2 separate regions of the Homo sapiens genome follow, and region 2 is linked to region 1. Evidence: promoter capture Hi-C in human tissues and cell types (Jung and others, 2019). All regions are on one chromosome and are shown on one strand. The core of a region is centred on a gene start or on the middle of the fragment in contact, and the rest is flanking DNA. Distances in the headings are between cores, read along the strand shown. Region 1 holds the start of RAB4A (RAB4A, member RAS oncogene family). Region 2 has its middle 14 kb from the start of ACTA1.

The links. Contacts are between HindIII fragments. The study calls those that stand out against the background at their distance.
Region 2: a contact is called between a fragment that was not itself captured here and the fragment with the promoter of RAB4A in region 1, in 1 of the 25 tissues and cell types used here (dorsolateral prefrontal cortex).

Annotation. Positions count from the first base shown.
Region 1 is chr1:229,269,689-229,272,388 of GRCh38, forward strand. RAB4A (RAB4A, member RAS oncogene family) reads left to right here and starts at 1,423. Exons shown (of 8, transcript NM_004578.4): 1 at 1,423-1,682. The coding sequence starts at 1,652. It overlaps RAB4A-AS1 (RAB4A antisense RNA 1), which reads right to left and starts at 1,466. Exons shown (of 2, transcript NR_149313.1): 1 at 1,288-1,466. RefSeq lists silencers at 1,235-1,764, 1,805-1,964. The HindIII fragment of the contact is 8,116 bases long and covers 1-2,700 here.
Region 2 is chr1:229,418,961-229,421,660 of GRCh38, forward strand. No RefSeq gene overlaps it. Among named protein-coding and RNA genes, the nearest start is that of ACTA1, 14 kb to the right of the region's middle. RefSeq lists an enhancer at 1-153. The HindIII fragment of the contact is 9,377 bases long and covers 1-2,700 here.

The sequences.
Region 1 (2,700 bases), core at 173-2,672:
AACAAGAAATATATATAAAACAGTTTTAGGAATTACAGCTGTCACAACTTTTCACCATGGGGCCTTCTCTGTGATTTAGAAAAAACTGCATTTATTTGTTATTAGGATCGGAGACAAGAGAAAAATACCGACCCAAATAGCCACTGGGGAAGAGGGAAGCTCTGATGCCAATTTATGTGGAGGATGGAGCCAAACTGACTCACACACACACACACAAAAGTATGTACTGGCATTTTCCACACAGTCCAGGTCACTTGGGAGCTTAGCCAAGGATATTTTGAGCATTCGACTACCTATTGTGAACAAGGTTGGGAACTATGAGGCGCTATGTGGCCCTGATCAAGCTCAGATGGGCCAAATCCTCAACCAAAATTCTCTTTCCCATAAATGTTTATCTCTACATTTCCCACAGAAGGGGATTCTAACTCAGTTTTGCTTCTGAAACCAAACTATCCAAGGCCAGGTGAGATGACTCATGCCTGTAATCCCAGCAATTTGGGAGGCCAAGGAGGGAGGATGCTTGAACTCAGGAGTTCAAGACCAGCCTGGGCAACATAACAAGACCCCATCTCTACAAAAAATTTAAAAATTGGCGCGGTGTGGTCGTGTGAGCCCCTAGCCCCAGCTACTCAGGAGGCTGAGGCAGGAGAATCGGTTGGGCTGGGCTGACAGTGCCAGACCCTGTTAAAAAATAAAAATTAAAAAAACTCCTAAATTTGGAAACACATCCCCAGCTGAGGGCCGGGAGATACTTCTCAACCGTAATCCAGAACCCTCTAAAATGGGATGTGGAGAGGCTGCAGCCTGTAGTCTTGCGATGACCTTTTAGCACCTGGGCATCTTGCGCTTCTGTCATTCCGCCCACACCCGCTCAGCTCCATCCAAGAGGGCCCGGCAGTTTGGAGTGAAAGCTTAGCTTCCCAACGGGTAAATGAACCTGCCTCCCATTCACAGGGCGGCCTCTGGCTGGACACCTGGGGCCTACTGCCTCCTTGTTACACATTAACCAAGTTCTGGCCTCCATCGTAACAGCGTCAGGGAAGTTTTTTCCTGGCTGACAGCCGCAGATGATGACCGAAGACAACGTCTTAACTGAGACGGGCCAATTTGGCAAATGGACTGCTTTCCTCCCCAGTGCGGGCACCTTCCTCCTCTGTCCGGCAACTGGACCCCACTGTCCCCAGCCCTCTGTCACCCCCAAACCTGCCCACCGCCCGCCTCTACCCGACCCTCCCTCAGGGAAATCGGGACTCAGCCCCCAACGCCCCCACCTGCCGCTCTGCCCACCTCAGCGCACACCGCCAGAGCGCCCAGCCCGCGCACGTGCTTCCGGCGCGCGCCGAAGTCCTCACGCGCCCCGCCCCGGCCTCCCCGTGCGCACGCGCGAACGCGGGGTGGGCCGGGCCTCGCGTAGCCCATCTCCTCTTCCTCCTCGCGGTCGCGGCCGGACGGAGGGTGGAGGGCCCTGCGCCTGCGCGGAGCTGGAGTCCGGCTGGGCCGCAGCCGCTGGGAGACCGGCGGTTGCCGTGGGGACCGGTCGGGCCCCTCCCTCCTCCGGTCCCCCGCCCCAGGTCCTTCCCCACCGAGACGCGCCGGCGGACCGCGGGCGAGTGCAGCCGGTGACCCGGCGAGAGGCGGCGCCGCTCCCAAGATGTCGCAGACGGCCATGTCCGAAACCTACGGTACGAGGCCCGGGCTGGCGGGGCGCGCGGGTCGGGCCGCGGGGGGCGTCGGTGGCGCGGGGCCGGGCCTGGGCTGCGGGGGTCTTGAGGGTGGCGGTGGCGCCGGCCGGAGCCGGGGGACGGATCTCGGAGGTGTCTGGGCTTGGGACCGGGATGGGGGACGCGGGCCGCTGGGGGCTCGGGTGGGGTAGCGGGTGCGCGGGGCGCGGGGGCGCTGTGCACAGCGCATTGGCGTGATCCGCCTTTTCAAGTTTCCTCTTGCTCTTTCTCTGCTCTTGCACTCTTAGCGCTTTTCCCCTCTCAGTCTAATGTAAATAACTGAAGGTTTGAAAAGCCAGCTTGATGTTCGGTTTCAGCTGCGATATTATCCCCAGCGAGCCTGTGAAGGGCTTAGGGCGACGCCTGTGTTCCTCAAATACTTCAGTTTGACCTTTCCTGGTTTGGAATTCCTTGCTTTACATTGGGATTACAGTGAGGAGTTATTAATAGGCTAATTCATTCATCTCTTCCTCCGGAGACCTCTTGCTTCGTTTATTTCTCCCTCCCTCTCAGTGTTTTTTAGCCTTTTCTGGGTTGCATTTTGGCTATTTATAAACATGTCTTGTCTCCTTCTTAAGACCGTAAGCACCTTGGAAGCAAAGCCCTGGCTGTTTAATCTTTGTTTCCCCTGCAGCACCCAGACCTGGAGGTGCTTGACAAATACTGTTTTGAATAAGCGAAAGCTTTCCCAGTGCATATGCTGTGTGCTTTTTTTTTTTTCTCCCCTTTTTTGGCCTTGCGTGGTAAGAATAAACAACTTGTACTTTGTATCAGAGTTGAATATTAATAGATGTTTACCAGTCCCTAATCACTCTTTCAGATGTATGTATTCTCAGATTAAGACTTTGATTTGGAGTTTTACAGTCCCAGAGAGAGGCTCAAGTTCAAAATTACATACCTCAAGCCAAATTAGTCCTGTCTCCATCTGTCCTGGCATGCTGCTTCCTTCTCTGCAACAAATACTGTGGAATGGCATTAG
Region 2 (2,700 bases), core at 52-2,551, 150 kb after region 1:
TTGTAATTCTCCTCACCCTTGAGAATGTACTTAGTGAGATCCACCCCCTGCCCACAAAACATTGCTCCTAACTCCACCGCCTATCCCCAAACCTATAAGAACTAATGATAATCCACCACCCTTTGCTGACTCTCTTTTTGGACTCAGTCCCCCTGCACCTAAGTGAAATAAACAGCTTTGTTGCCCACACAAAGCCTGTTTGGTGATCTCTTCACACGGACACGTGAGACAGAGACCAGCCTGGCCAACATGGTGAAACTCCATCTCTACTAAAAATACAAAAATTGGCGGGGTGTGGTAGTGCATGCCTGTAATCCCAGCTACTCAGGAGGCTGAGGCAGGAGAATTACTTGAACCCGGGAGGTGGAGGTTGCAGTGAGCCGAGATGGTGCCACTGCACTCCAGCCTGGGTGACAGAGCGAGATTCTGTCTCAAAAAAAAAAAAAAGAGAGAGAGAGAGAGAGAGAGAGAGATGGGGTTTTACCATGTTGGCCAGGCTGGTCTCAAACTTCTGACCTCAGGTGATGCACCCACCTTGGCCTCCCAAAGTGCTGGGATTACAGGCCTGAGCCACTGCACCCAGCCCATGTTGCTGTTTGATCAATATCTGCCTCTCAGCTAGACTGCCAGCTCCCTGAGGGCCGAGACACTGATTTGTAGGTGCTCAGCAAGTGTCGGTTGAATAAATTAGTGAATTAATTGAGGATTGGAGGGGGTGCCAATAAGCAGGGCAATAGCAGGGGAGGGGGTTCTGGATCCGTTTGGAAAATAAGCTGAAGAATAATGTCAACTTGATTTTAGATGTCTTAATTTCTCAGACTGAGGAGCAGCACAGCTCCCTCCCATGTAGTCCCATAACCAGGAAAGTGCATGGAGGAAAAAGGACACAGACACTTCCCTGGCTGGGGGGCCACAGTGCCTGTGCTCTCCTGTAGCCTGGAACAATTCGCTTTGCCTCATGGTGCCCGGGGCTGCCCCTTGGAAAAAATACAGCCACCCAGTGCAGGGCTGGGACTGGGTGTGGGAAGTGAGGCACATCCTCTGTGCTGGTGGTACAAGTGCAAGTGCAGATTCTGGGGCCTCTCACCTCATCCTCATCCCAGCCTGAACCAGTGTTTGCCTTGCCCATGTCGGGAAGAGATCCCATGATAATTTCAGAGATGCTGAGTTTCCTGGCTTAAAAATTCCTGGTCTCCAGTGCCAGCGTGGTGTGGGAAAACACATGCAGCTCCCCCATCCCCCAAACCTGGGAGAATGACCCTGGTAGGTTCCGCCCCAGGGCACCTGGAGATCTGAGCATGGAGGTCTTCCGGGAGCCTCACTGTACCTGCATGGTCCTGCTTCCACCTGCCTGCCTTGCACTGAGCACTAGAGGCTGAAACAAACATTAGCAGAAAATCCAGATTCTAGAAACAGATGACATGCGCCCTGAGATGACGCCCTAACATGCGCCCTGACACGCGCCCAGGGATGACAGGCATCCTTTTGAAGCATTTACTTGAGAAGAAGTTCAAGTAGGGTTAAGTTATTCCATATAACTATATTCCATATCGCACGTCTCCGTTCCTGCAATGGTAGCGATACTCCATAAATATGTGTTGATGAATGGACAAAACTAAAGGGAGGGAAGAAAGTGGGGGAGAATCTTGAGCTCTGTAGCTTTGGAAGGAGAAAGAATACAGTGGAACCTTTTCTGAAGCTCTCAAGGAACGTGTCCTTGGAAAAATGTGACTCTCCCCCTTCTCCTAGCTTGCTCCCTCATCCTGCAGAAAAGCCGCTCCTCCCTCTTCCATGGCAGAATGGTATTGGCAGGGGAAACCTAATGTGCTAGGCAGAGCTGGGAATAGAACTCAGTCTCCTGAATTCCATATATTCTCTTTCCACCGATGTCTGCTAAGTGCATCCAGAATTGCTCTGGTGGACGGGGCAGGTCAATGAAAGCAGCAACTTGAGCTCCTTCCAGCAGGTGCCGCCTTGCATCACCTATGATCCCATGTGTCATTCACGTGTATGATTGTATATGATCCTCTGATCCCCTGCCCAGCCCAAGCCTCTAAGCTCCTCCATCTGTCGCAGGAGCCTGGCCTGTGGTCATCAGCAGGATTGTGAATGGATCCGCCCAAACTTGTCCTACTGGAAAGAGAATTCTGGTCTGCTGGACGAGTAGATCCTTTCTTTTCTGTTTAATTATTCATTTGTGCCATTTGATTTAATATTCTTAATGTTAACATAACGCGTATTTGTTGAAAAAATAATATTGGTGGAAACATTGAGGTACAAAAAGGTCAGGAAGAAAAATCCCCCCTCTTCCACCCCCGGAAGCTGTCATGATGATTTCTCACTTTGGCCTACTCTCTTCGTCCCCTTCGCCCTTCATTCTTTTCTTTTCTTTTTTTTTTTTTTTTTGTATTCATGGTTCAACTGATCCCTGTTGACACATGGCACGTTAGCTTTGGGTTGCGAGGGCTCCAGGCATCTCGGCCTCCCAGCTGGTGGCCTGTCATCCTGGGAAAATTTTCAGATTCGGTGCATTTTTAGGCCCAGGAAAAAGGCAACAGCTTTAAAATAAGGCATCAGAATTTGGGACAAACTTTCCGAAGCCTACATGTGAGATTTGAGATGTTTTTCAGGGGCGGCTAAAGACAAAGCTGGTAAGTAGGGTATGTTGAGGTCTATTTTTAGGGAATATGGTGGGCTAAG